7 separate regions of the Homo sapiens genome follow, and regions 1, 2, 3, 4, 5 and 7 are each linked to region 6. Evidence: promoter capture Hi-C in 16 types of primary human blood cells and fetal thymus (Javierre and others, 2016). All regions are on one chromosome and are shown on one strand. The core of a region is centred on a gene start or on the middle of the fragment in contact, and the rest is flanking DNA. Distances in the headings are between cores, read along the strand shown.

Region 1 (3,859 bases), core at 422-2,921, 350 kb before region 6:
TCAGAGACTAGCTTATTTTTTCATTCAGCATAATTCACTTAAGATCCATATAAGTTTTTGTAGCATCAATAGTTTATTTTTTATTGCTGAGTAGTATTCCATGGTATGAATGTACCACATTACATAACTGTTCTCCCTTTGAAGGACATCTGGGTTGTTTACAGGTTTTGACTATTATAAATAAAGCTGTGAACAGGTTTTTGTGTGAATATAAGTATTCATTTCTTTGGAATAAATGTCCAGGAGTATAATTGCTGGGTCATATGGTAGTCACATGTTTAGTTTTGTAAGAAATGACCTGTTTTCCAGAGTGACTGTACCATTTTATATTCCTGCCAATAATGTATGAATGATCCAGTTTCTCCACCTCCTCACCAGCATTAGGTGTTGTCACTATTTTTCATTTTAGCCATTCTGATAGGTGCATAGTGATCCCATTGTAGTATTAATTTACATTTCCCTGATGGTTAACGGGGTTGAGCATCTCATGTGCCATCTATTCCACTTCAGCGAAATGTCTGCTCATGCCTTTTGCCTATTTTCTAAATTGATTTTTTATTATTGAATTTTGAGAGTTCTTTTTATATTTTAAATACTACCAGTGTTTTATCAGATATGTAGTTTGCAAATATATTCTCCCAGTCTGTAGCTTGTCTTTCCATCCTCTTCGTAGGGTCTTTCAGAGAGCAAAAGTTTTTAGTTTTGATGAAGTACAATATATTGATTTTTTTGAAAACGATCTTGCTTTTTATAGTAAATCTAAGAACTCTTTGCCTAGCCCAGATCCTGAAGATTTTCTCCTGCTTTTTTTTTTTTTTTACATCTTTTTAAGCCTGATGCCCATTTTCGACTTAATTTTTGTAAAAGCTATGAGGTTTAGTTCAAGGTTTTTTTTTTGTTGTTGTTGTTGTTTTGTTTTTGTTTGTTTGTTTGTTTTTGCTTTTCTTGCCAAAGGATGTCTAATTGCTCTCGCACTATTTGTTGAAAAGGCTATTCTTCCTCTGTTGTATTGCTTTTGCACCTTTGTGAAATATCAGTTGGGCTTGGTTTTATGGGTCTGTTTCTGGGTTCTCCATTCTCCTCCACTGATCCATCTGTCAATCCCTCCACCAATATCACAGTGTCGCTATATAATTGGTCCTGAAATTAGAAGGCTGATTGCTCTGACTTTACTTTTCTTTGTCAATATTGTTTAGCCATTCTAGAGTCCATATCTTTATTTATTTATTTATTTATTTATTTTTTGAGATGGAGTCTCGCTCTGTTGCCCAGGCTGGAGTGCAATGGCACGATCTCTGCTCACTGCAGTCTCTGCCTCCCGGGTTCAAGCGACTCTCATGCCTCAGCCTCCCAAGTAGCCAGGATTACAGGCATGGGCCACCATGCCCGGCTAATTTTTGTATTTTTAGTAGAGACGGGTTTCACCATGTTGGCCAGGCTGGTCTCGAACTCCTGACCTCACGTGATCCGCCCGCCTTGGCCTCCCAAAGTGCTGAGATTACAGGCATGAGCCACCACGCCTGGCCAAAAGCCTGTATCTTTTAATATAAATTTTAGAATAAGCTTGTCTATAGCTATAGAAAACCTTGCTAGAATTTTGGCAGGAATTACATTAAACTTGTAGATCAATTTGGGGAGAACTGACATTTTTACTATATTGAGTCTTCCAATCCATGAACACAGTTGCCTTGGCTTTTATACTCTGTAAATCAACATTTATTGAGTGCCTACTAAATGTAAAACTAAGTTAAGGATAGTTGTAGAGCTCTTTAAGCTTTACTGAAATATAGGTATCATAATATAACTTGTTTATTGTGTTTTATTTCATAGGTCCCTGATGTCAAAGAAATGGAAAAAAGCAGCTTTACTGAGGTAGAGCAATCATAATATAACTTCATTTTTACCCTTAATGTGTTTTATTTAATAGCTCATTAGTTTCAAATGAATCAAATAAACCACAGAAGCTACTTTTGAGCCTTCCTTCTCACCTCTAACCCTCATCCTAAACACATACACTGGGTTTGATTCACTAAAAAATGAATTCATTGTTTGATGTTTGATAACTGCTAGAGGAAAAGATACAATTTGGCCAGTGACCCCGTGTATTCTAATCTGCTCTTTTTATTCTGATATTTATTTCAAAAGCCATTCCTTGGGAGCCAGAGCTCACTTTTAACAGCAGTTGTTTGCAATTGCTTATTCCCCATCAAAATCCTAATTTCTATTTGTGGCACAACAAATTGGTTGCTGTGGAGATAATTATGTAAAACTGGATTCAAGGGAGAACATGCAGCTAAGATCCAGTTTTTATAGGAACGTCTCTAATAATAAAGATGTGGGGAAGTGAAATCTGGGAATTTGGATCTTTAAACCAAATTATTTCTAAATAACTAATAAGGAATTATAGTTCTTTGCCAATATAAATCAGGAGAAATAATTTATAACTGAGACCTAAGGGTTGCACCTCTGAGAGAGGGCTTTACCATAGAGCTGCAGATTGAAAAGATTAAATGTCTCAAGTAATTTGTTTAATTAGGAAAAAAGTAAGTTTACTGTACAAAATTCTAGACCCTGGCTAAAGATTCCTTTATAAATAGCACTACTTAAAGTAGAAATTTGGTTGGATCAGAATTTAAAGAGGCCTAACATTTGAATTCGTTGGTACGTAGGAGGGCACTCCTGCAACACACAGGGTGTTAAATGACAGTATTGGTATCCCCCTCTAATCCCCAACTTTGCTTCAGTACATTGAATCTCCAGACGTGGAAAATGAAGTAAAGAGACTGCTGCGTTCGGATGCTGAAGCCGTAAGTACCCGTATCCTTTATACAAATATTTTCTGCATAGTCTGTTCTGCCCCATTTGTACATGCTGACGAAGCCTCACCTCTGGTGTTTGTGTGCCAGTCTTGATGTGTGGAACTTAAGATTCTTTGAAATGTTCTAGCTAGGAACAGTAAATTCATGTAATAGAAAATTATTTATTGTGTAATTCAATATGAGGCACTTCTCCAAACTAGGAATTCCAATACAAATGGCCTAAAGTTGGACTAAATTAAATAGCACTGTTAGCCAAAGAGCCCCTTCCCTTTCAGCTGTGCCTTTTTGTTTCCTTCTGTGTTTTCCTTGACTACCCACTCCTTTCAGGTTGGGAAGTCATTGCTGAAGATGGAACCAAGGAAATAGAAAGTCAAGGCTCCATCCCAGGATTTTTGATATCCTCGGGAATGAGCAGCCACAAGCAGGGTCATACCTCGTCAGGTACTTTAGTAAAGGCAAAGCAGGAGTTTCAGATAGGGCAGGTATTGACTGGGTATCAGATCATTTTCCATAAATTCATAGGCCAATCCAAAAAAAAAAAAACCCAGAAAAAAAGGATGGTTTCGTCCTTCCCTCTTTTTTTTTTTTTTTTTTTGAGATGGAGTCTTGCTCTGTCGCCCAGGCTGGAGTGCAGTGGCGTGATCTCGGCTCACTACAACCTCTGCCTCATGAGTTCAAGTGATTCTCCTGCCTCGGCCTCCCAGGTAGCTGGGATTACAGGTGTTCACCACCATGCCCAGCTAATTTTTTACTAGCGTCGGGGTTTCACCATGTTGGCCAGGCTGGTCTTGAATTCCAGACCTCAAGTGATCTGCCTGCCTCGGCCTCCCAAAGTGCTTGAATTACAGGCATGAGCCACTGTGCCTGGCCTTTTTTTTTTTTTTTTTTTTTTTTTGAGACAGAGTCTCGCTCTGTCGCCCAAACTGGAGTGTAGTGGTGCGATCTCGGCTCACTGCAACCTCTGCCTCCCAGGTTCAAGTAGTTCTTGTGCCTCAGCCTCCCAAGTAGCTGGGATTACAGGCATGTACCACCACACCAAG
Region 2 (4,028 bases), core at 785-3,284, 310 kb before region 6:
AAAGAGTCATAGTCAATTTGCCTTTCAAAGGCAATCATCACCTAACTTTTTAGATTTTATAAAGGTTTATTATTTGCTGGTTTGCATGTCCCTCGATGTTGGAATAAAGCAGTATTTTTAAATTATGATTATTTTAGTTTGTTATTTTATTGTATATTATTTATTTTTAGAGTCAGGGTCTTGCTCTGTTGCCCAGGCTGGAATGCAGTGGAGCAATCATAGCTCACTGCAGCCTCGAACTTCTGGGCTCAAGTGATCCTCCCATTTCAGCCTCTCAAGTAGCTGGGACTACAGGCACACACCACAAAACCTAGCTAATTTAAAAAAAAATTTTGGGCCAGGCGTGGTGGCTCACGCCTGTAATCCCAGCACTTTGGGAGGCCGAGGTGGGTGGATCACGAGGTCAGGAGATTGAGACCATCCTGGCTAACACAGTGAAACCCCGTCTCTATTAAAAATACAAAAAATTAGCCAGGCGTGGTGGCAGGTGCCTATAGTCCCAGCTACTCGGGAGGCTGAGGCAGGAGAATGGCATGAACCCAGGAGGCGGAGCTTGCAGTGGGCCAAGATCACACCACTGCACTTCAGCCTGGGCGACAGAGCGAGACTCCGTCCCCCACAAAAAAAAATTGTAGAGATGGGGGTCTCACTATGTTGCCCAGGCTAGTCTTGAATTTCTGGGCACAAGTGATCTTCTTGCCTCAGCCTCCCAAAGTGCTGGAATTACAGACATGAGCCACTGTGCCCAGCCAGCACTATGTTTTTAAAGGACATACTGGTACTTTTATTCATTGAGTCAGTTCAATTCATTTGAGTGGTTTTTTGTTTTTCTTTTCCACATCTCATTAAATGGCCACACATGCTGCTCCAAAGAGCCACATACAGCTTTGGGTCACACAACTGTTGACCCCTGCTCCAGGCTATATTCTCTTTGCTTTTTTTCCTGCAGTAGGAATCTTGCTTCCCCCCAACTTTGGATGGACTCCTGGGGGAAACTATCCTCCTAGATAACAGGTAAGAAAATGAGTTTGGGGAAGGCAGGAGGGTGTTTGTTCAGCATTCAGCAGTACATGGCTCAAGAAGAAGTGGGAAAAACAGAAGACCACCTACCTTTGCTCTCAGAATGAGGCTCCTCTAACTCCTCAAATGGGTGCTGGGACAGGAAGGCCTGAGCTGACTCCAGCACAGAATAGATGTAGGGGCCCCGAGACTTGACTTCTTCCATAAAGGCCTATAAAGTTTAGCAATATGGTCAACAGGAAAGGAAAGTTTTTCAATCACTTTACATTCCATCCTGCAATTGACAACCTTTCTTCTTCTCAGTGTGTCTTGATTCTTTGGCATTATCAGGTATCTTTGAACTACCTAGACAAAAAGGCGTGCAATCCTCCTGATAGACAGAAAAATAACTCTGACACTGGAAGGTCTGTTTAGTATGAAATTTGTCTGTCTATGCCACAGGATAGAGAAAAATGTGGGGATCTTGGTTCTCCAGAAGACTCAGAAAGCTTCCTGTAAGGGTCTTATGGAAATCAAAACCAAGATAGGCAGGATTTATATTAAAATTATAATTAAATTTTTGGTTGAAATATATACGGGATACACAAACTAAAACTGTACATCTTGATGTAACCAGTACTGAGATCAAGAAACAGAACTCTATCAGCATCCCAGGTGGGCCCTCCTAGTCACTATCTCACCTTCATGCCCCACCCCTCCCTCCCCTCCCACAAAGGTGACCACAATTTTTACTTGTAAAATCACTGATTAGTTTTGCCTATTTTTAAACTTTGTATAAGTGGAATCATACAGTATATACTCTTTTTGTATCCGGCTTTTTTTCACTCAACATATTGTCTGTCTGTAAGATTCACCCATGCTGTGGCACGTGGTTATAGTTTATTTTATTGCTGTATTATATTTCATTCTGTAGTCATTTTAAGAAGTATTTTAACTACAGCAGTAATATATATCACAGAAATATTAGAAATTTCAGAAAGATATGAAGAAAATTAAGAACTCCAATTTTATTACCTAGAGTTAACCATTGTTAACATTTTGATATAGTTCCTTCCTATGCTGTTATATGTATGTAAACATCACACTCATCTATATACATTTTTATACAATTGAGATCCACTTGCACTTAGTTTTGTATCCTGTGTTTTTTCACTTAGCATTATGTTATGTTCATTTCCCCATGTTCCCATTAAAAATCATGGCAGTATTTTAAGGGAGGCTAGAATTTGATGGGAGGGGTAGAAAGAAAATATTTGACTTAGGCTGTGGCATGCTAGCCACAGACTAATAGGACTGCATACAGCCTCCTATTCATTTAGGTGTCTCAGCAGAGCTGGGTGTCTGTCAGGGTACTGAAGAAGGGATTCCTCCCCAGCTGAGAGGCTACACACCACGGCTTCTCTGATTCTAACCTACCGCATGTGTCTCCTTCTCCTGTTGCACCAGGGCCACATCCCCCTGTAGGGGCAGCTGAGCTGACAACTCCTCATCCTTTTGGCTGAGCCAGTCAATAATCTCTTGAAGAGGGAGCTGAAGCTTTCCACTGTGGTCTGAGAAGGCCTCTAGGCGAGCGCTGCACACAATGAGTAAAACCAGTGATGTTCAGTCTTCTTTTTAAGTGGCAAAACATTTTTTTTTCCAAACTAAGTTATATGGAACTTTAATATAGAAAACAAATTCAGGAGGAGCTTTTCTGGTTCAAGTGGGAGGAGGCCTGGAGTCCTCCCTCTTACCCACCCAAAGAGGGTCCCAAGGCACCTCCACATAGAGCACAGTACTAAAACCAGTAGGTAGAACCATGGGTGTGGAGGCATCCCAAACTTCAATGGCTTAAAATGTCACTTTGTGGATCTCAGTTACTTCAGTTGCATGCCAAACATCAGGCTGGGAAGGGTAGGAAACTGAACAAGGGCATTAGAGGTGACAGCTGTCTGGTTCCCCTCTTGCCCTGGTAGAATTCAAGTCATGCCAAACTGCTCAACCATAGAGGCTGTTCCGAACTGCCCTCTGAGCAGGAGAGGATTCAGTAAGTGGAAAGGGCAAGTTGGGTGGTTGAGTATAGGCATGCACATGTGCAAGGATGCATACGAATATAACAGTCCTTGGGACCCAAAGGAACATTGGCTAGAGGTCTGAGATATGGAAACAGAAAAATCTGTACTGTATAATTATCTCTGTCTGCCCTCCTACCCCGCTGCCCTCCAAATGAACCATGGTAGGAAGCTGGAGGCTGGCCAAGGATATGTGCAGCCATCAAGCCATTCCCCTTGGCTGACAATAATAACTATCTTTATTCATTGCCCCCCCCTCACCACCACCTAGGCCAAGATCTTTACCTAAATTATTGCTTCAACTAATTCTTACAAAAACCTTATTAAGTAGGCATTCCTATTGCCCAGAAAGGGTAAGTAGGTTCCCAAAGGTCACACAGTTAAGTCATTGATAGAGCGATGATTTGAACTCAGGTTTACCTGACTCCAAAGCCTGCATTCTTTCAACTTATCCACAATGCCTCACCCCTAACAAAGCCCATCAGAAGCCAGAAGCTTGGACTTTGATGATAGAGGGTGGAGAAAAAAAGTGGCAGGCATGCACAGACAGCTAGGGAAAGCCGATCAACTGAGAAAAAAATTGACTTCAGGCTCTTACAGAGCTACCCTTAGTTTGGGGAGAAATAGGTGGGCTGAAAACTTATGGATAGAACGTAAAAGGATGGGGAAGTGAACAGATGAGACCTACCAAGATATAGGACAGCTATGAGAGGAAGAGGAGAAGGGAGCAATCATCCCCTTCATTTATACCTCGGCATTTTTAAGTTTAGAAAGCATTTCCACATCTGATTTGAATTCCTATGACCACACTGTGAGGTAGTTAGAACAGGTATTATTCCTCCACTCATTTTTTGTCCTTATAAAAAACAAATGGAAGCTAACATTTCGAGAACTCAAACAAAGTATTCAGGGTGACACAACTACTTAAAACTGAGGCTCAGATCCAAGTCTCCTGAC
Region 3 (3,533 bases), core at 873-3,372, 280 kb before region 6:
TAATTTAAGATATAAATAATACTAACCTATAAAATAAGCATGAGAGAATTCAACAAAATCTGAACTTTTTCATAATTACAACTGCAATTCTTTCTTATTGTCATGCGGTTCACTTTTTAAAAGTGCACAATTCAGCCAGGTGTGATATAATCTGAGCACCTTGGGAAGCTAAGGCAGGAGGATTGCTTGAGCCTGGGAGTTCAAGACCAGCCTGGGTAACACAGTGAGACTGTGTCTCTACTGAAAAATATTTAAAAATTAGCCAGGTATGGTGGCTCGTGCCTTTAGTCCCAGCTACTCGGGAGGCTGCGTGAGGAGGACCATTTGGGTTCAGGAGTTCCAGGTTGCAGTGAGCTATGATTGCACCACTGCACTTCAGCCTGGGTGATAGAGTGAAACTCTGTCTCAAACTAAAAACTCCATACCCATTATCAGTTGCCCCCAATATCCCCCCAGTCCCTTCTCAGGCCTAGGCAGCCACTAATCTACCTTCTGTCTCTATAGAGTTTCCTATTCTGGCCATTCTACACAAATGACATCAAACAACATGTGGTCTTTTGTGTCTGGATTCTTTCACGTAGCATATTATCATCAAGCTTCACTACATCATTCCTATGTATGGCTGAATAATATTCCATTGTATAAATATACCACATTTTATTTATCCATCCATCAATTGATGGACATTTAGGTGTTTCCACCCTTTGGCTATTATGAATATTATTGCTATGAACATTTGTGTGCAAGTTTATTGTATGAATATATGTTTTCAATTCTTTTAAGTACATACCTAGGAATGGAATTGCTGTGTTATATGATAACTCTGCATTTAACTTTTTGAGGAACTGCCAGACCGTTCATCAAAGTGGCATCTCCACGAGCAATGTACAAGGGTTCCCATCTCTGCATATTCTTGCCAATACTTGTCTTTTTTAGTATAGCCATCCTAGAAGTTATAAAGTAGTATCTCATTGTGTGGACTCAAATCTTTAAAAAAAATCTTTAATGCCTCTATTTAGCTGGTTTCCTAAGCATGTGCTTAATCTACCTATTATTAGGCCATCAAGGACGGGGATCAGTCAAATTAATTAGGTTCCTGGGGCTGGAAAGCACATAAGGGAGGGCCTGCTCAGTGTAAAACATTTCCAACACCAAAGCAAGATTCAAAAATGACTAACTCACAATCTCTGTCTAATAGGGGAGGCAGACACCTACTCAAACAACTATTAAACAAAGTGGAATGAGAAAAGTGCTATAATAAGGCAGTGGAAGTGCAGAGGGGTGTTAAGGCATGCAATTCTTCCAAAGTACAGTGCTAAGCAGCCCCAAACATCACCAAAGCAGCCTAGATCCTTACCCCTATGCAGCTACCACATTAAGCCAGAGTCTTCTTGGAAACAGCTATAAGAGCAGGGAATAGGGCTCTTGGAGATATACTGTGCTGGACCTGAGAGGTATATTTGTCATTTTCTCATTTCAGTGACTATTCATACTTACTACCCACTGAGTAACCTTTCAGGCCTGGCCTCATTATTTTTAGTCTTATATCAATTTGTAGGACTGTACTGAAGAATAGCTGTAAAGTGCTTTGTAATTCTATGGTGTGTTATAAATAATAATCTCTCATTGCAACCATCTTACCAATAATAAGCAAATCCTACTCCAGCAGTTCCACATTGTACCCTCTCCAATCTACTATTTTACCTGAATCATTCCCATTACACTTCTTTGTATCAGAACACCCCAGCTTCTGGAGATAATGGTTACAATCAGCTAAACCTTCGGAGAGCCTTTCTAGTCTTAGAAGCAGTTTGATTCAGTATTTTGCTTCAGAAATAGAAAGCAAGCCAGGGAGATTGCTCCCACTTCATAAATGGAGACAATGAGGTACATAGAGATTAAGTGACCCAATAGTTAAAAAGGAAATATTACCAGACTGAAGTTCTGTGTGTCCTCCCTATCTTACCCTCACTCTACCCACAAGAAAACTTTAGCTATTAAGGTTGTGGGTTTGGGATGCCTACTCCCCAGGTCCCAAGCCTTTCTCCTAAGAGTAGCTAAGAGTAAGCAGGCTGCCAGAGCACAGCTAACTCATATTCAACAGACCAGAGAAGGCAATTTCACTTTTGAACTGCTCTCTACTTTCCTGAAGTGGGACTCAATTGTGCTTGAAAATGCAAGCACAACCTAATTGCCCTCAACCATCTGTCTAAACTTTCCTCAGAGCAATGGGCCAAAAACACGTGACCCTGCCTAAGGGAGGCCTTGGGGAAGCCCTTTGGAAATTAGAGCCCTCTAATCATTTATTTATTCAAATATTTATTGAGTACATACTCATTTTAATACTTAAGAGTGGTACTAGCATAGTAGTTACCAGCATGGGATCTGAAGGCTGATTGCCTGGGCTCAAATCCTGATGCTACTATCTGCTTATTGATTTTAGTTTCCCTCTTTGTAAAATGAAAAGACTAAAATTGCCAGAGGGTAGGTATGAGGATTAAATGAGATGCATATGTGAAGTGCCTAGCACATTGCCTGGTACATGGTAAGTATTCAATAAATGTTAGCTAGTATTGTTATTCATGCTGAATCAGAGCAAACCTGTCAGGGATCAATGAACAATACATAATAGATAATGGAGTAAAATTTTAGGGACCTTCCACCAGTTTCATGGGCCCATTGCTGAAAGCGTTCTGGGGAAGAAGCATGTGCTAAGAAGAGCAGTAGAGAAAGTGTTGTGATTCAAGGAGGTAAAGTAGAAATTACACTTGGATGCCAGAGAATGACTTGTTGCATTACTGAAGTTTCAGAAGAATATAAATGCCAAAGAGGACACTATTGCATATCAATGCATTCCATTCTAGAGGAAAAGATTCCTGCTAACAAGCCCAGTCCTTAGCACCAATGTTTTCCATCACACTATAAAGCACAGAATTAAGGCAGTGATTCTTAGGTGCAAAGCCCAGAACCTAACAAATTACCCCCAATTTCTCCCAGCAACCCTATTTCTGGAATTAGCTCTGTGAGTTGGGGTACTTCAACTGACCCAAGAAAAGGAAATAGTGGCCAGGCACGGTGGCTCACGCCTGTAATCTCAGCACTTTGGGAGGCCGAGGCAGGTGGATCACCTGAGGTCAGAAGTTCAAGACCAGCCTGGCCAACATGGTGAGACCCCGTCTCTACTAAAAGTACAAAAAATTAGCCGGGCGTGGTGGCACGCGCCTGTGATCCCAGCTACTTGGGAGGCTGAGGCAGGAGAATCACTTGAACCTGGGAGGTGGGGGTGGAGGTTGCAGTGAGCCGAGATCATGCCACTGCACCCCAGCCTGGGTGACAGAACAAGACTTTGTCTCAAAAAAAAAAAAAAAAAAGGAAATGATGTCAGAGAGAAAAGCCTACTGATGAGCCTATTGAGAGGATTAATTTAGGACTACCTTGAGGGTCTTGGGGGTCTCCTGCTGGGGCAAGGCTCAAAAGCAATGTAGGGAGGGTGGGAAGTGACAGTGAGACTCTGTTTTGACTATACTAATGAC
Region 4 (3,873 bases), core at 120-2,619, 390 kb before region 6:
AACTGCACATGTTTTCACTTATTTGCGGGAGCTAAAAATTAAAACAATTGAACTCATGGAGATACAGAGTAGAAGGATGGCCACCAGAGGCTGGGAACGGGGTGGTAGGGGAGTGGAGGGGAAATGGGGATGGTTACTGAGTACAAAAAATAGAAAGAATGAATAAGACCTAGTATTTGATAGCATAACAGGGTGACTATAGTCAACAATAATTTAATTGTACATTTAAAAATAACTGAAAGAGTATAATTGGATTGTTTGTAACACAAAGGATAAATGCTTGAGGTGATGGGTACTCTATTTACCCTGATGGGATTATTATGCACTACATGCCTCATCAAAACTATCTCACGTACCCCATAAACATATACATCTACTATGTACGCACATACACAAAATAATGAAAATGAAAAAAAGAAAGCAAAAAGAGAAAAAAGAGGAAGAAAAAATTACTCCGTTTTCAGACTAGTTTTGTACTGGGGGACTCAATGCTTAGCCAGTTCGTTTACAGCTCTCCCTTGGCGTTCAGTTCCTGCTTACATGGATCCTGACGTCAGCCAGAGGTGAAAACTTAGGTTCTTCTCGGCCCTTTTCTGAGCATGTTTCTGAGCATGAGCGCCTGGCGTGCATGTGGCCTTTTTCAACTCTCTGGTATACACAGGAGCTGTTAAAATCCCTTATTTCCCCACATATTTCCTTTCCGATCTTCTTCCTTCCTTCAGTCTATTATTTGTTCTGACTGTTATCTCTTTCCCCAGGCTGCTCCAGACAATATTGTGCCTTCAAATACTTTCAGCAAAAGCTACCTGCTTCTGAGAATGCTCCAAGTTGGGTGAAATGAGGCAGGTCCTTGCACCAGTTCTTGAGAGAACCACTAGTCAGGTTGAAGCATAAAATCACATTTGGAAATAAGGTCTGCATTGCTCCCTCCAGCACTATAAAGTTATACCAGGAGTGTGGGATGCTACCTTCATGGCTGCTGCTGATCTAAAGCAGGGAGTTGGCAAGCAGGTGATTAAAAACACCAGAGCATTCTTTTACTGCAATGTAGCTGCTTCTTTCTTCATTAAGCTTTCCCCTGCTTGTTGTAAGTTTTCGACTAAATTCCAGAGTTCTGCAAAAATTGACAGTCTTTGCCAGCTTGTTGTTTGATTTTGGAGAGATGGAGCCCTGGGGTTCCCTGTTTTGCCATTTTCCATGACATCATGAACAAGTATAGTTGTCATAAGCTTTTGATTAGTTTCCAGAGCTCTGATAAAGTTGATTTTGACACTGTTTGCTGGTTTATTTTCCGCTTTTGTGAAGGGATAGACTTTTGGAGTTCCCTACTCTGTCATTTTTGCTAATGTTACTTAAATTCAGGTATCTTTATTAGGGAAAATTGTCCATTTCAGTATTTTACTCCAACAGGGAGTCATTGCTGGAAGAAGACAATGTCTGACCACTCTGGCTTCTACAATGGTCTAGTCATAACTCTCAGATCCAGCAATTTCATTGGCAGAAGCTTTACCTTACAGGAGATGGGCCTTATTAAAACCATAAGCAGTAGCTCCATTAAACCAGGTACAACAATGTCTAAATTTTTTTTTTTTTTTTTGAGACGGAGTTTCACTCTTGTTGCCCATGCTGGAGTGCAATGGCTCAATCTCGACTCACTGCAACCTCCGCCTCCTGGGTTCAAGCAATTCTCCTGCCTCAGCCTCCCGAGTAGCTGGGATTACAGACATGCACCACCACACCCGGCTAATTTTGTATTTTTAGTAGAGACGGGATTTCACCATGTTGGCCAGGCTGGTTTTGAACTCCTGACCTCAAATGATCCACCCGTCTTGGTCTCCCAAAGTGCTGGGATTACAGGTGTGAGCCACTGTGCCCAGCCAACAATGTCTAAATTTTTAAAAGGTTGATTATTTAGCTTTTATTCTCTTCCTCTTGCTTTCTTTTTTTCCCACTAGCACATTTTCTTCCTTGCACTTTTCTGTATTTTTTTTTTTGAGATGGAGTCTTGCTCTGTTGCCCAGGCTGGAGTGCAATGGCGTGATCTTGGCTCACTGCAACCTCTGCCTCCCGGACTCAAGCGATTCTCCTGCCTCAGCTTCCTGAGTAGCTGGGATTACAGGTATGCACCACCATGGCTGGCTAATTTTTGTATTTTTAGTAGAGACGGGTTTCACCATGTTGGCCAGGCTGGTCTCGAACTCCTGACCTCGTGATCTGCCCTCCTCGGCCTCTCAAAGTGTTGGGATTACAGGCGTGAGCCACCGCACCTGGCCTCTGTATTTTTTTAAACGTTTTATAGTCAACATGCATTTAAATTTTATAAAAAGACATGTAAATATCTTGTTTTATAAGTGGAATAAAAGAAGATTTATGAATGTAATAAGAAAGAATTCAAGCTCCTTACTACAGCTTATGAAGAACAGTTAAATTTTTAAATTATCTTTTCCCCTGAAGAAAAATATAAATAGTTGTAGTTTTACTTTATTATATTACAGTGTTCTAGAATTGATAGATTACTACTTTTTATCCCTTTCTTTAGTTCACAGTGGTGATGGATACCTGAAGAAATGATTCTGGTGGGCTAGATTCATATTCAGCAAGTGTTCTTCACTTTACAACCTATTGGAATTACATTTAACCCAATGCTAATTTAAAAATAAGTTTGTGTTGAGAAGCCAGCAGAACAATATTTTAAAAACTTTTTTTTTTCATGGATCACGGTCAGGTTTAGAATAAGTCAACAAGCATTCAGAGTTTCTCCTTTTCCAGAATATATTCAATAAAATTTCATTTTTTCCCATACACAGACAGAGTCACATAAGCCTAGACACATCATATTTACTTACTTTTCTTTCTTTCTTTCTTTCTTTTTTTTTTTTTTTGAGACAGAGTGTCGCTCTGTCTCCCAGGCTGGAGTGCAGTGGCGCAATCTTGACTCACTACAAACTCCGCTTTTCTATAATAAAAAAACAAGAGTGTATCCCGGGCTGGGCATGGTGGTGGCTCTAGAATTGATAGATTACTACTATTACTATAATCCCAGCACTTTGGGGGACTGAAGTGGGAGGATCCCTTGAAATCAGGGGTTCAAGACCAGCCTAGGCAACATAGCAAGACCCCCATCCCTACAAAAATTTTAAAACTAGCCAGCTGTGGTGGCATGCACCTCTAGTCCCAGCTACTCTGGAGACTGAGGTGGGCGGATCGCTGGGGCCCAGGAGGTAAAGGCTGCAGTGAGCTGCAATGACATAACTGCACTCCAACCTGGGTGACAGAATGAGACTCTGCCTCAGGGAAAAAAAAAAAAAGAATTATTTCTCCATACATTGGTCAGCATGATTTTCAGAAAACACAAATCAGATCACGTTACTATCCTGCTTCAAACCCTCCAATGAGAAACATATCTTGTTCATGGATTGGAAGATTCAGCAGAGTAAGATGTCAATTCTCACCAAATTGATATAGCGGGGATCCTATCAAGATCCCCACAAGATGCTGGGTGCAGTGGCTCACTCCTGTAATCCCAGCACTTTGGGAGGCCAAGGCAGGTGGATTACCTGAGGTTGTGAGTTCAAGACCAGCCTGGACAACATGGTGAAATTCCGTCTCTACTAAAATACAAAAATTAGCCAGGCATGGTGGTGTGCACCTGTAATCCCAGCTACTCGGGAGGCTGAGGCAGGGGAATCACTTGAACCCGGGAGGCGGAGGTTGCAGTGAGCCGAGATTGTGCCACTGCACTTCAGCCTGGGCTACAGGAGACTCTGTCTTAAAAAAAATCCTCACAAGATATTTTATTTTAGTTTTATTTTTATTTATTATTTATTTTTATTTATTTATTTATTTTGAGATGGATTCTCGCTCTGTCACCCA
Region 5 (3,581 bases), core at 229-2,728, 330 kb before region 6:
CACCTGCTCAACCATCTATCCAGATACCCAGTTCTCCTGCCCAGAGACCTCATGAACACTAAGGCAGATGTTATGCTGTGAAGTCTGACACCCTGGACCTGTGACTTAGTGGTGGAGGAGGCAACCCTAAGCTTCTGGACCCAAGCCACTGCCCTGCCTCCCCTGCAGCAGATCAAACTAGGTTCCTAGCAGTTCTACCCACTGGCCCACTGCTGGATTATAATACAACACCCCAACCGTCACTCCCTCCTGATTGTGGTGGCAACTGTTGCTTTCTTTAGCCCTGAGTGAGACCATAAGAGCTGGAAGGGACCAGAGAATGTTCTCTGTGTCTTAGCTGGCAAAGGCTAATAAAGGCCTGTTTGTCCTTTTCTGCATGGGGTGGGCAGAGCTTGGGTTTGCTCTATTTTGGCACCTGAACCATTTAGGGGAGCCCAGGAAAATTCACCCAAGGCCCAGGTCTCAAGGGAACAAGATTTGGAATGAGTGAAGAGAACAGTGACTCTTCCTGTTAGATTCTCTGTGACCACAGGTTTCTGTTGCTTTGGTCTTGAGGACAGCCCACCCCAAACATCAATGGAGAGAGATATCCTAGGGGAACAGCCAGGATACATCTATCTTTCCAACCAGAGGCTGGGGCTAACAAAGAGCAAGGCAGAACATTAATACTTCAAGAGGTATTAGAATTTAATGTGTGAGTGAGGCCAGGAGAGCACTGATGTACAGTAGATATGTAGAATAGATATGTATGTATATAAACTTAGGCAAATGAAGTCAACTGCAGGGCTCTAGGTTATAAAGCTCCTCTTGGGAGAAAGCTGCCTAAGTGGGCTCTGAATCTATTCAACATTCCCAAGCCCACTCCCCCACCCCTACTATCTATTCTGAACAGTTTCTGGATAAAGAGATCATGGTATATGTCGCCTAGGAAGAGCTAGTTCAGTTTGAGGATTGGATTCACCTTCCAGAGTTAGAAATAACAATTTTAGGCACAGGAAGGCCTTGCTGTTGTTGTCTGGGTGGAAAGTGGCCAGCTTCCTGATTTGTGGCCTGTGGCTCCTATGGAGGGGCCACTACACACGGTAGCCAGTTGCAAATGCCTTATGATTAGCTGGGGACAATCAGCCACCTCACCTGATTCAGCCTGAGAGCTAGAAGGGTCACAGCCTGGAAGGGTGTTGGATGGCAGTCATACTACTCCAGACTTGAGGTGGGCTTCCTCTTCCTTACCCAAGGAAAGCAACACTCCCTTGCTCAGCAAGCTGCCACTGTGTCCTCAGGTCTGTGAGGACAGACTCAGAGGAGCAAAGGGTGGCTTCAGCCAGGTTTCCAGAGCAACTCGCAACTCAGTGGGTCTCTCAAAATGCTGAGGACTTTAAGAAATAGGAAGATGTGGGGCAAAAAAAAAATCTAAACCCATAAGTATGGATTTAATGCTTCCAAATATAACGTAGAAGAACCAGAATGAACTGTTCTCCCCTTAAGGAAGGTCTGTCAGGGACTGAGGCTAAAGAAAATGAAGATATTTGAGGAGAAACCAATACCTAGGTAGCATTAGGATGGCTAGCAATCTGTCCTGGAGCTGAAGTAATAGAACACACACTGCCCAGACTTTTTCAGGGGCACTTGGGGTGGGGAAGGTGTCTCGGGGATACCCTTTTGCCTCCCTGAGTTGCGCCAGAGAGTAGGGGTAAACCCTGTGGATTCATAATGCTGGATGGAACCTTGGGGTAATTAGGCTTCTCTCTTTCCATAATTCCACGGAGAAGGAAGAGGGGCCAACATGTACCGCTTAGCTCTGCAAGGCAGCTTCTCTGCTCCCCATCTGAATGGCCAAGTGATATTTGCCTGGGCTGCAACAGAAAGGTACTTAAAGGGCTGATCTCGAACTTGAAGATTAAAGGGAACATTTCTAGGGTCAGAAGAATCATGCCTCCCCTTCTCCCATCACTGCCCGCATGCACCTCACATACCACCAGATCCCTGCTGCTGCCCAGAGCCCAAATAATACTAGTTGAGGAATGTGGGGCCAGTGGAAACTGGAAAGGTTGGGTGAAGGCTGAGGAAAGGCTTTGACCGGAACCAGGAGAGGACTATGAACTATAGGATGGGGATCTGGCTCCATCAAGAGGCCAGCAGGGTGTTGGCAGTCACATCAGAACTTCGCACACTGGGGAAGGCATGACGGAGTTTCTCCATGATGTCCTCCAAGCACAGGCTGACATCCTGGCTCTTTGACCCCACATCATCTGGGTTAAAAAACAGAGATTTGAGAAGAGAACTAGAGACTCCTTTATGAGGCCAAGGGGTCAGATAGAATTCTGCCAGCTGAAGGGCAGACCTGCCCGCAGCATTTGCATCTTCCCAGCACAATGCCTAATACATAGGTTGTGCTCAATGTATATTTATTTGTGGAATAAGCATATGAATTAATCAATCAGTAAACCAATCATCCCTGACCCTAAGCACAAAGCCAAGAGGAGAAACCAGTCCCAGCCCCGCAAAGCCTTGGGCAGGAAATCGAGGGCAGGACAAAGCCATGGAGAAAGGGGCTGGGAAAGGCCAGGGGAACTCACCTGCAGCCTCGGTATCTGGAGTAGTCTGTCCCTTCTCCCGGGGGTGACTGCCTTCTGACTGCTGTGGAGAGGAAGCTAGGGACGAGCCTGCAGAGCCACTGCCATCTGATTCGGTGGGTGGCTAGCAAGAGGTAAGGCATGACTTAAGTGGATTTGCCTTCCTGACCTTACTCTGACAGACTCCTGAGCTTAGAAGGGACCTGAGAGACTTCATACCATCCCTTTACCCTTAGACTTTAAGAAGCTTTTGGTATTACCTAAAACAGTGGCTTCCACTTTTAGGAAACTTCTTAGAATATTGAATTACCCATTACCTTCTTCCTTTAACAACATGTGTCAAAGGCTCCCAGTTCTTATAAGAATGGCATTGTAGGCTGGGCGCGGTGGCTCACGCCTGTAATCCCAGCACTTTGGGAGGCTGACGCAGGCGGATCACCTGAGGTCAGGAGTTCAAGACCAGCCTAACCAACATGGAGAAACCCCGTCTCCACTAAAAATACAAAATTAGCCGGGCATGGTGGCCCATGCCTATAATCCCAGCTACTTGGGAGGCTGAGGCAGGAGAATCGCTTGAACCTGGGAGGCGGAGGTTGCAGTGAGCTGAGATCGAGCCATTACACTCCAGCCTGGGCAACAAGAGCCAAACTCTGTCTTGAAAATTAATTAATTAATTAATTAATTAAATAAAGAATGGCATTGTACCTAAAGGTCTCTTGCTGTCATTTCAGCTATAATTAAGCTATTTAGAACACAATTCTCTCTGGAAATGTAGAGTTTCACACCTGATCCTTGGTTCATGACATAGCATATGTTAGAAACCTCCAGGAATCCATAGAGGCCATTCCTTGGAGGATCTGGGGAAGAGGCAGAAGAGTGGTATTTTCCATTACATATAATGACAATAATAGGTAACATTTATGAAGTGTGTACTAAATTCCTGGCATCATGCTAAATTCCATAAATGCATTATCTCCTTTTATGTTCACCACAATTCTATGAAGTTGG
Region 6 (3,931 bases), core at 1,084-3,583:
AGGCCATGGAGAAGAAGGAGGAAAGGCTAAAAGGTAAACGTTGGGATTCTACATTCTTCTTCTTAGCTTTACTCTCCCATGTTTTTTTTTTTTTTTATTTTTAATTTTTATTTTTTTGAGATGGAGTTTCACTCTTGTCACCCAGGCTGGAGTGCAATGGTGCTATCTTGGCTCACTGCAACTTCTGCCTCCTGGGTTCAAGGGGTTGTCCTGCCTCAGCCTCCCGAGTAGCTGGGATTACAGGTGCCCACCACCACGCCCAGCTAATTTTTGAATTTTTAGTAGAGACAGGATTTCACCATGTTGGTCAGGCTGGTCTCAAACTCCTGATCTCAGGCCATTCACCCACCTTGGCCTCCCGAAATGCTGGGATTACAGGCATGAGCTACCGCGCCCGGCTGACTCTCTCATGTTTAGGGGGACCAACTCACCCTATCCCAGTGAAATGGGATTAATTGGTCACCTTGCCTGAGATTCACCTTGTGAACAGTTACCTAGAGCAGCCCCAAGAGGTTCTGCACCATATACTGGTGGTGGAGAACCTTGTCCCAGTTGGAATGTCCCAACTAATAAGAAAAAGAACACTCTCTGAAGTTGTTCTCAATAGTGTTGACCTCCTTCATGAAATGGAAAGGAGAAAGGAGCAGCCTCCTAGCCCAGCTGCTAGCATAGGTGCAGACCAAGATGCGGAGTCTGCTTCAGAAGGTGACAACCTTTAGATGTTGAATCTGTCCCTGAATCAGCCCTGGGGAAAGGAGGCAGCAATCATGGAAACCTTAAAAAAACAAAAAACAACATAATGACAGGACAACCTGGAGGCCATTATTTTGGTGGCTGCTACTTGGCCACTCCTCACATAGATTTGTTTTACTGACTTCCTGCAGCAAAAGGAGATTGGCACAGGCTCTGCTACATAATCATCATTATTATTATTATTATTATTATTATTATTATTATTATTAAGACGTAATCTTGCTCTGTTGCCCAGGCTGGAGTGCAGTGGCGTGATCTCAGCTCACTGCAACCTCTGCCGTCCGGGTTCAAGTTTTTCTCCTGCCTCAGCCTCCTGAGTAGCTGGGATTACAGTCACGCACCACCACGACCAGCTGATTTTTGTATTTTTAGTAGAGATGGGGTTTCACCACGTTGGCCAGGCTGGTTTCGAACTCCTGACCTCAAGTGATCTGCCTGCCTCAGCCTCCCAAAGTGCTGGGATTACAGGCGTGAACCACTGTGCCTGGCCTTCATCTATATTATTACCAGGAGGCAGATGTGTTCTCTTTTTCTCTGAGGTTTAGAATTATGCAAATGAAGATATGAAAACAAAAGCTCAGTGAGGTGGGGAGGATTACACTTAAGAATACAGGTAATTTTCAAAGCTCTTTAAGACACCCCTCTCAGTTTTTACTAACAGCTCTCTCTTGGCTCTTTGCCAGTCTGTTTAGAATTTGGCACCTCTTCATAACCTTTCAACCAAAGACCTGTAAGTTCATTCTAAAGCTCCTATCCTGGCCTCATTTTGCAAGTGGAGAAATCAAGGCATAAAATATGAGCTTTCAGTGTCTGTGGGCTGACCTTGAGTCTTGACCTTTATCCTGTTCTATCTTCCCTCCGCCGAAAACTCTGACCCTATTCCTCCCAGGTTCCCCCTTCATGATATTATCTGGAGGGCAATAGGACCTAGGGAGGTTCCACCCTGCGGCGGAGGGAGACACACCTGCCTAACAGCGTGGGTAGAGTGAGTGTTGAAGCAAGTCACTTAACTAGTTAGGGAGGGCGGGGTAGAAGTGGGGGCCTGCTGCTCCTAGGGAGGAGTAAAGCTGTGGCTCCTGCCTGGGTCTGGAGGTGGTGGTCAGAAGTGCTTCTGAAGAGCGGCCCAAGCCCCTTTTTGTCCCGCCACTCCACAACGAGCATCCCTCGGCTGGCCGCCTGCCCGGGAACTCTCCGGCTGGTTTTGTTTGGCCGCAGCCGTCCCGCCCATCTCGCCCGCCCCCGCCGTCCCGGTGCCTTAGTTTTTGAAGCTGCCGACCTCTCGCAGCTGGAATCGCAGACCAGGCAGGACCCTGGCAGCAGACGGCGTCCAAGAGTTTGGCGACCTCCGTCCAGCCAGGTTGGCGCCCCGCACATCGTGCCTCTCACTAGCAAAGTTTCTCCGAGGAGAAGCAGCCCCTCCAGCCTTTTCTTCATCCTGTAGAGCGAGCGCGCTCTGCTTCTGTCCCTCAACACTGCATTCGGAGACAGGGTGGTGACAATACTCCACTCCCGGGCCAGGCGGTCTTGGGGGCGGGGCTTGGGGGAATCCGAGGAGCTATCCTGAGAACCCTGGACTCGGCAAAGGTCCTGAGAGCGCGCAGGTGAGCGGGCCAGCTGATAGCTACAGCCTAGCAATAGCTAGGATACCTAGGCACTGAACTGAATCCCCTCTTCTGCCCTCCTTCTTCTGCGCCCGCTCTTCTGCCCTGGCTCAGCTCTCCGCTGACTTGAGAGGACACACTGGTCAGGACTCTTTGTGAGGAGCTGCTGAGTGTCGGTGCCCCCGACAGATCGGCTACACCCTGCCTGAGGGGCTGCGAAAGGAGCCGCCACGGAAGCCGCTGTTCTCATGACTCTTCACGTCCCTGGAGTTGGACTCTGGATGGGGCGCTGGGATGCTTGCTTTTGTCTTGTTCAAGTTTCACAGCAAGTATGTTGACGATTGGAATCGGGGCCAATCAAGAGTCAAGTTCAAAGTGGTACTCCTGGGCTTTCCATCCCAGACTCCAAGTCGAATCTGAGTCTAGAAGAGAGCGGTTTCTTGCTCTAACTAGTGAATCTCTGTTCCCAAACTGGACTTGACAGAGCTCTCCTCACCTATACTTGGACTGTAGCGGCCATAGGGTTCTCTTGGGGATGGGTGGGAGGGTGCTATGAACACAAGACCACAACATTCAGAAAGAACCTCGACAATGGACAGAGTTTATGAAATTCCTGAGGAGCCAAATGTGGATCCGGTTTCATCTCTGGAGGAAGATGTCATCCGTGGAGCCAACCCCCGATTTACTTTTCCATTTAGCATCCTTTTCTCCACCTTTTTGTACTGTGGGGAGGCTGCATCTGCTTTGTACATGGTTAGAATCTATCGAAAGAATAGTGAAACTTACTGGATGACATACACCTTTTCTTTCTTTATGTTTTCATCCATTATGGTCCAGTTGACCCTCATTTTTGTCCACAGAGATCTAGCCAAAGATAAACCGCTATCATTATTTATGCATCTAATCCTCTTGGGACCTGTTATCAGGTGAGCAACTTTTAAATCTTTTCCTTACCCCCCTAACCCCACCCCAGACTTGGGCAGAGAAAGATGAAAGATTTACAAGATGGATACTATGGCTCTAATCAATTCTCTCATTTCCTCCCACTCTCGGCTTCCCTGTCTACCATTCAGAAAACTTACCTGAAATCTTAAATGCCACCATGATGAACATGTGGTATGTACTTGTGTTCCAAAACAATGAACGATGCTATTTGGCCTGTGTAAACTAGAATGGGAACAACAAGACGTGATCACCCTGTGCATGAAGGCCATAGCTGCAGAGTGTGTAATTTTATTTAAAAAATTTTTTTTTTCTGAGACAAGGTCTTGCTCTGCCTCCCAGGCTACAGTGCAGTGGTGCGATCATGGCTCACTGCAGCCTTGATCTCCTGGGATCAAGCGAACCTCCCACCTCAGCCTCCAAGTAGCTGGGACCAAAGGAATGTGTCACCATGCCTGGTTAATTAAAAAAAAATTTTTATAGGCCGGGTGTGGTGGCTCATGCCTGTAATCCCAGCACTTTGGGAGGCTGAGGCGGGTGGATCACCTGAGGTCAGGAGTTCAAGACCAGCTGGCCAACATGGTGAAACCCCTGTCTCTACTAAAAATCAGCTGGGTGTGGTGGCGCATATCTGT
Region 7 (3,770 bases), core at 137-2,636, 450 kb before region 6:
TTTTTAGTAGAGACGGGGTTTTGCCATGTTGGCCAGGTTGGTCTTGAACTGTTGACCTCAGGTGATCCGCCAGCCTCGGCCTCCCAAAGTGCTGGGATTACAGATGTGAGCCACCGCGCCGGCCTAGTGTTCTATTTTTATGACAGCATTTGTTTTCACTTTATCTTTCCAATGAAAGTTCGGAATTAGTAATAATATTACACTGTGCATAAACTGTAAGTGAATAACTGATATGAAGTGTTGCTTGGTGTGAATAAAAAAGCCAGTGGTGACTTTGGGAACTTTATTTGTCTTTCTGTGTTTCAGTTACCTAAATTGAATCCTTCTGGAGTATTGTAGGTTTGGGGAGGCTAAATAAGTTGTGTTTCATAAATGAACAGAGGTGGCATCTATATCAGTAAGACAGTTGCATCACTTTTGCATGATGCTGTCTAAAAGAACTAATTTAAGCTAAATGGGGAAAAGGTCAGAAAACAACAACTACCCCCCCCCCACCAAAACCCACCAAAAAAAATTATGTTTTCAACTTTAGAACAAATCTTCTATCCTTTGTAGCTCAGTCAGTGGGTGTGGGCAAAATCAGTTGGGCAGCAGTTAGTGTGTGTCCAGAACTGCAGGTGCAGCCTCCATATCCTTATTAGTTCCCTTGGTTACAGACCCCAGTGGGACAATGTTTGAAAAATTATATTCACCGTCTAGGAAATTGGGAACTGAAAGTCCAATATCTGCCTCAGTGGAGTTCTGGCACCTGCATTATCCCTTCTGGGTATATCAAGATCAACAGCTGCACAGATACTTTTGCTTTTCACAGATTCTACACATATCATATAAAGGTGAATAGTGTAAAGCTACCTCTACACCTTACCAAGCACACAGGTGCGTGCCATTTAACATCTAGAGCATTCCATTGCCTTATACAAGAACTCAGTTTATATGAGCTCACAACATCGAACCAATCCCCCCCCAATTCAGTGTGCATCCATTATACCTGAAACCTGACAGAGCTGGGGGCTGTGGGAGGAGGTTGGTAGGAAGAAATTATTTTGTGAGCTGTGCACATTTTTGTTCCATTTGAAACTAGGTAGCTAGGCTGAGGGGGAACCAAGAGGGATGAGGATTAATGTCCTGGGTCCTCAGGAACTTTCATTATCAACAGCACACAGGTGAACTCCAGAAAGAAGAAGCTATGGCCGCAGTGATTCTGGAGAGCATCTTTCTGAAGCGATCCCAACAGAAAAAGAAAACATCACCTCTAAACTTCAAGAAGCGCCTGTTTCTCTTGACCGTGCACAAACTCTCCTACTATGAGTATGACTTTGAACGTGGGGTAAGTTTCTCGACTATGAAAACTGAGTTTCAAGATATCAAGGACTTGGCCTTAGATCTTTCTTGGGGAAGAGGTAAATTTTCGTTGGTAGGAGGAGGGGAGTAGAATGGACCTAAGTTCTTTCAAATTCAGCAAAATATTTCCTAGCCTATAACTAGCTAAAGCCGGAAAGTCAAAGGTCCTAAGAAGCCACAAGGAAAATATTACCATGGAATCTTGGAATTGATGAGCACTCATTAAATGATTGTTGAAAATGAAATCGAAGAGTTGGAAATTGCTTCCTTACTTCCTATGAGGAAGGTACATACAGTCATTCACTCTTCCATGGTATTTGCCCTCCATTTGGTAGTCATAGATTTATAGATCTGGAAGGATTTTTTTTTCTTCCCCCACATGACAGGTCCTGGTGCCACCTCACTTTGTTGAATGATTAGATAACAAAATCTAATCATCTGGTTGCTTAATCCCTCTTAATCTTTCTCCATTTTCTTCCTCATTCTACTTCTCAGAGAAGAGGCAGTAAGAAGGGTTCAATAGATGTTGAGAAGATCACTTGTGTTGAAACAGTGGTTCCTGAAAAAAATCCTCCTCCAGAAAGACAGATTCCGGTAAGAAGAGACCAATGTCTGAGATGGGGAACAGCAGATTTGAAGAAATTTGCAACATTTAAATTCTCTGTAAATAGACTGGTGATGCTGTGCAACGTGGAACACGGTCAAGTTTCCTTTAAAAATTCTTCACTCTACCATATTGGTTATAAAGAATCTTAGCTTCTTTCCTTCATATTCAGAACATCTCACTAAACATGGAAAATTTGTTAACACAAACTTTTAAATGATGCTATATCTAGTTTTCAAACTGGTCAGAGATCATTGATTTTATTCCCTCAGTTCTCTCAGGATCAGATTTAGAGGCTTAAGTAAGTCTGAATGTCATAATCCTAGGGCTCTGAGTCACATGATATCCTTTAATACCTTACTATTTATTCTCTTCTCACTTTCCGGAGCGAGAGACATAAAACCTACTGATTTTTGAGTTCACTTTTAAAAAATATATATCAATTTCAGTATTTTCTTTTTTTCTTTTTTTTTTCTTTTTTTAGACAGAGTCTCGCTCTGTTGCCCAGGCTGGAATGCACTGGTGCCATCTTGGCTCACTGCAACCTTCACCTCCCGGGTTCAAGCAATTCTCATGCCTCAGCCTCCCAAGTAGCTGGGATTACAGGTGTGCACCACCATGCCTGGCTAATTTTTCGTATTTTTTTAGTAGAGACGGGGTTTCACCATGTTGGCCAGGCTGGTCTTGAACTCCTGGCCTCAAGTGATCCGCCTGTCTCGGCCTCCCAAAGTGCAAAGATTACAGGCGTGAGCCACCCACTGGGTCTGACCATTTTCAGTATTTTCTTGATCACAGGAGAATTGCGTATTTATTACAGAAACTCTGGAATATATAAAAAATACAAAAAGATTAAAATGATGCATAATCCTGTTACCCAGTTAAAACAACTATCAACATATTGGTGTACATAGACTTACAGATGTTTTTCTTCACTGAGAACACATACGCATACACTTATATATATGTCATATATTTAAAACATAGACTCATAGTACACATCTTGCTTTGTAACGTACTTTTTCAATGTAACGATATGTGGGAAACTTTTCCCCATGACAATAGATATTCTTTAATAACATGATTTTAATGACTGTATGGTATTCCCTATTATGGATGTATTGTAATTTGTTTAATCTCCCATTATTACACATTCGGTTTGTCTACAAGTACTTGATAGTATAAACCATGTTGAGAGGAACAATCTTGCATACATCTTTCTGTACTTTTTTTATTCTTTTCCTTATGATAATTTCCTAGAAGTAAAATTTTGTTCTTCTCTTTAAGAAAATCTGTGCACTTTGGTTATTTTTATCTTTTTATTTCATTTTCTAGAAGTGGAATTGAATTTCATACACACCTACAAGCTATGTATGAGAGTGCCTGTTTCTGTACATTTTTTCCAACACTAGATATTTTGTTATTTTTATTATTATTATTATTTTCTGAGATGGAGTCTCGCTGTGTCGCCCAGGCTGGAGTGCAGTGGTGCGATCTCCGCTCACTGTAACCTCTGCCTCCGGTTCAAGTGATTCTCCTGCCCCAGCCTCCTGAGTAGCTGGGACTACAGGCGCCCACCACCACACCCTGCTAATTTTTGTATTTTTAGTAGAGATGGGGTTTCACCAGATTGGTCAGGCTGATCTCAAACTCCTGACCTCAAGTGATCCTCCCACCTCGGCCTCCCAAAGTGCTGGGATTACAGGCGTGAGCCACTGTGCCCAGCCCAACACTAGATATTTTAAATATTAGTTAATTTGACAGCCAAGAAAAATAGCATTTCAGGTGGGGCGTGGTGGCTCACGCCTGTAATCCCAGCACTTTGGGA

What was found. Contacts are between HindIII fragments. The CHiCAGO score rates a contact against its expected background, and 5 or more counts as called.
Region 1: a contact is called between a fragment that was not itself captured here and the fragment with the promoter of XKRX in region 6, in 11 of 17 cell types (fetal thymus, naive B cells, non-activated CD4 T cells and 8 more). The highest score is 10.7, in fetal thymus.
Region 2: a fragment that was not itself captured here is called in contact with the fragment with the promoter of XKRX in region 6 in 2 of 17 cell types (naive CD4 T cells and non-activated CD4 T cells); the score reaches 5.5 in naive CD4 T cells.
Region 3: a contact is called between a fragment that was not itself captured here and the fragment with the promoter of XKRX in region 6, in 8 of 17 cell types (non-activated CD4 T cells, activated CD4 T cells, endothelial precursors and 5 more). The highest score is 8.3, in non-activated CD4 T cells.
Region 4: a contact is called between a fragment that was not itself captured here and the fragment with the promoter of XKRX in region 6, in 1 of 17 cell types (total B cells). The highest score is 5.2, in total B cells.
Region 5: a contact is called between a fragment that was not itself captured here and the fragment with the promoter of XKRX in region 6, in 2 of 17 cell types (total B cells and fetal thymus). The highest score is 5.2, in total B cells.
Region 7: a fragment that was not itself captured here is called in contact with the fragment with the promoter of XKRX in region 6 in 1 of 17 cell types (total CD4 T cells); the score reaches 5.0 in total CD4 T cells.

The regions. Positions count from the first base shown.
Region 1 is chrX:101,277,007-101,280,865 of GRCh38, reverse strand. It overlaps TAF7L (TATA-box binding protein associated factor 7 like), which reads left to right. Exons shown (of 13, transcript NM_001168474.2): 7 at 1,831-1,872; 8 at 2,745-2,817; 9 at 3,147-3,260. Among named protein-coding and RNA genes, the nearest start is that of TAF7L, 12 kb to the left of the region's middle. The HindIII fragment of the contact is 211 bases long and covers 1,566-1,776 here.
Region 2 is chrX:101,236,184-101,240,211 of GRCh38, reverse strand. It overlaps DRP2 (dystrophin related protein 2), which reads right to left. Exons shown (of 24, transcript NM_001939.3): 5 at 2,437-2,593; 6 at 1,111-1,231. Among named protein-coding and RNA genes, the nearest start is that of DRP2, 18 kb to the right of the region's middle. The HindIII fragment of the contact is 1,048 bases long and covers 1,511-2,558 here.
Region 3 is chrX:101,209,427-101,212,959 of GRCh38, reverse strand. No RefSeq gene overlaps it. Among named protein-coding and RNA genes, the nearest start is that of DRP2, 8.6 kb to the left of the region's middle. The HindIII fragment of the contact is 3,048 bases long and covers 599-3,533 here.
Region 4 is chrX:101,312,278-101,316,150 of GRCh38, reverse strand. No RefSeq gene overlaps it. Among named protein-coding and RNA genes, the nearest start is that of TAF7L, 23 kb to the right of the region's middle. The HindIII fragment of the contact is 275 bases long and covers 1,232-1,506 here.
Region 5 is chrX:101,259,165-101,262,745 of GRCh38, reverse strand. DRP2 (dystrophin related protein 2) reads right to left here. Exons shown (of 24, transcript NM_001939.3): 23 at 2,577-2,697; 24 at 1-2,249. The coding sequence ends at 2,125. Among named protein-coding and RNA genes, the nearest start is that of TAF7L, 30 kb to the left of the region's middle. The HindIII fragment of the contact is 2,689 bases long and covers 134-2,822 here.
Region 6 is chrX:100,927,319-100,931,249 of GRCh38, reverse strand. It overlaps XKRX (XK related X-linked), which reads left to right and starts at 2,333. Exons shown (of 3, transcript NM_212559.3): 1 at 2,333-3,280. The coding sequence starts at 2,946. RefSeq lists enhancers at 1,687-1,736, 2,930-3,931. The HindIII fragment of the contact is 22,335 bases long and covers 1-3,931 here.
Region 7 is chrX:101,372,701-101,376,470 of GRCh38, reverse strand. It overlaps BTK (Bruton tyrosine kinase), which reads left to right. Exons shown (of 19, transcript NM_000061.3): 2 at 1,157-1,327; 3 at 1,837-1,935. The coding sequence starts at 1,187. Among named protein-coding and RNA genes, the nearest start is that of BTK, 12 kb to the left of the region's middle. The HindIII fragment of the contact is 5,931 bases long and covers 1-3,770 here.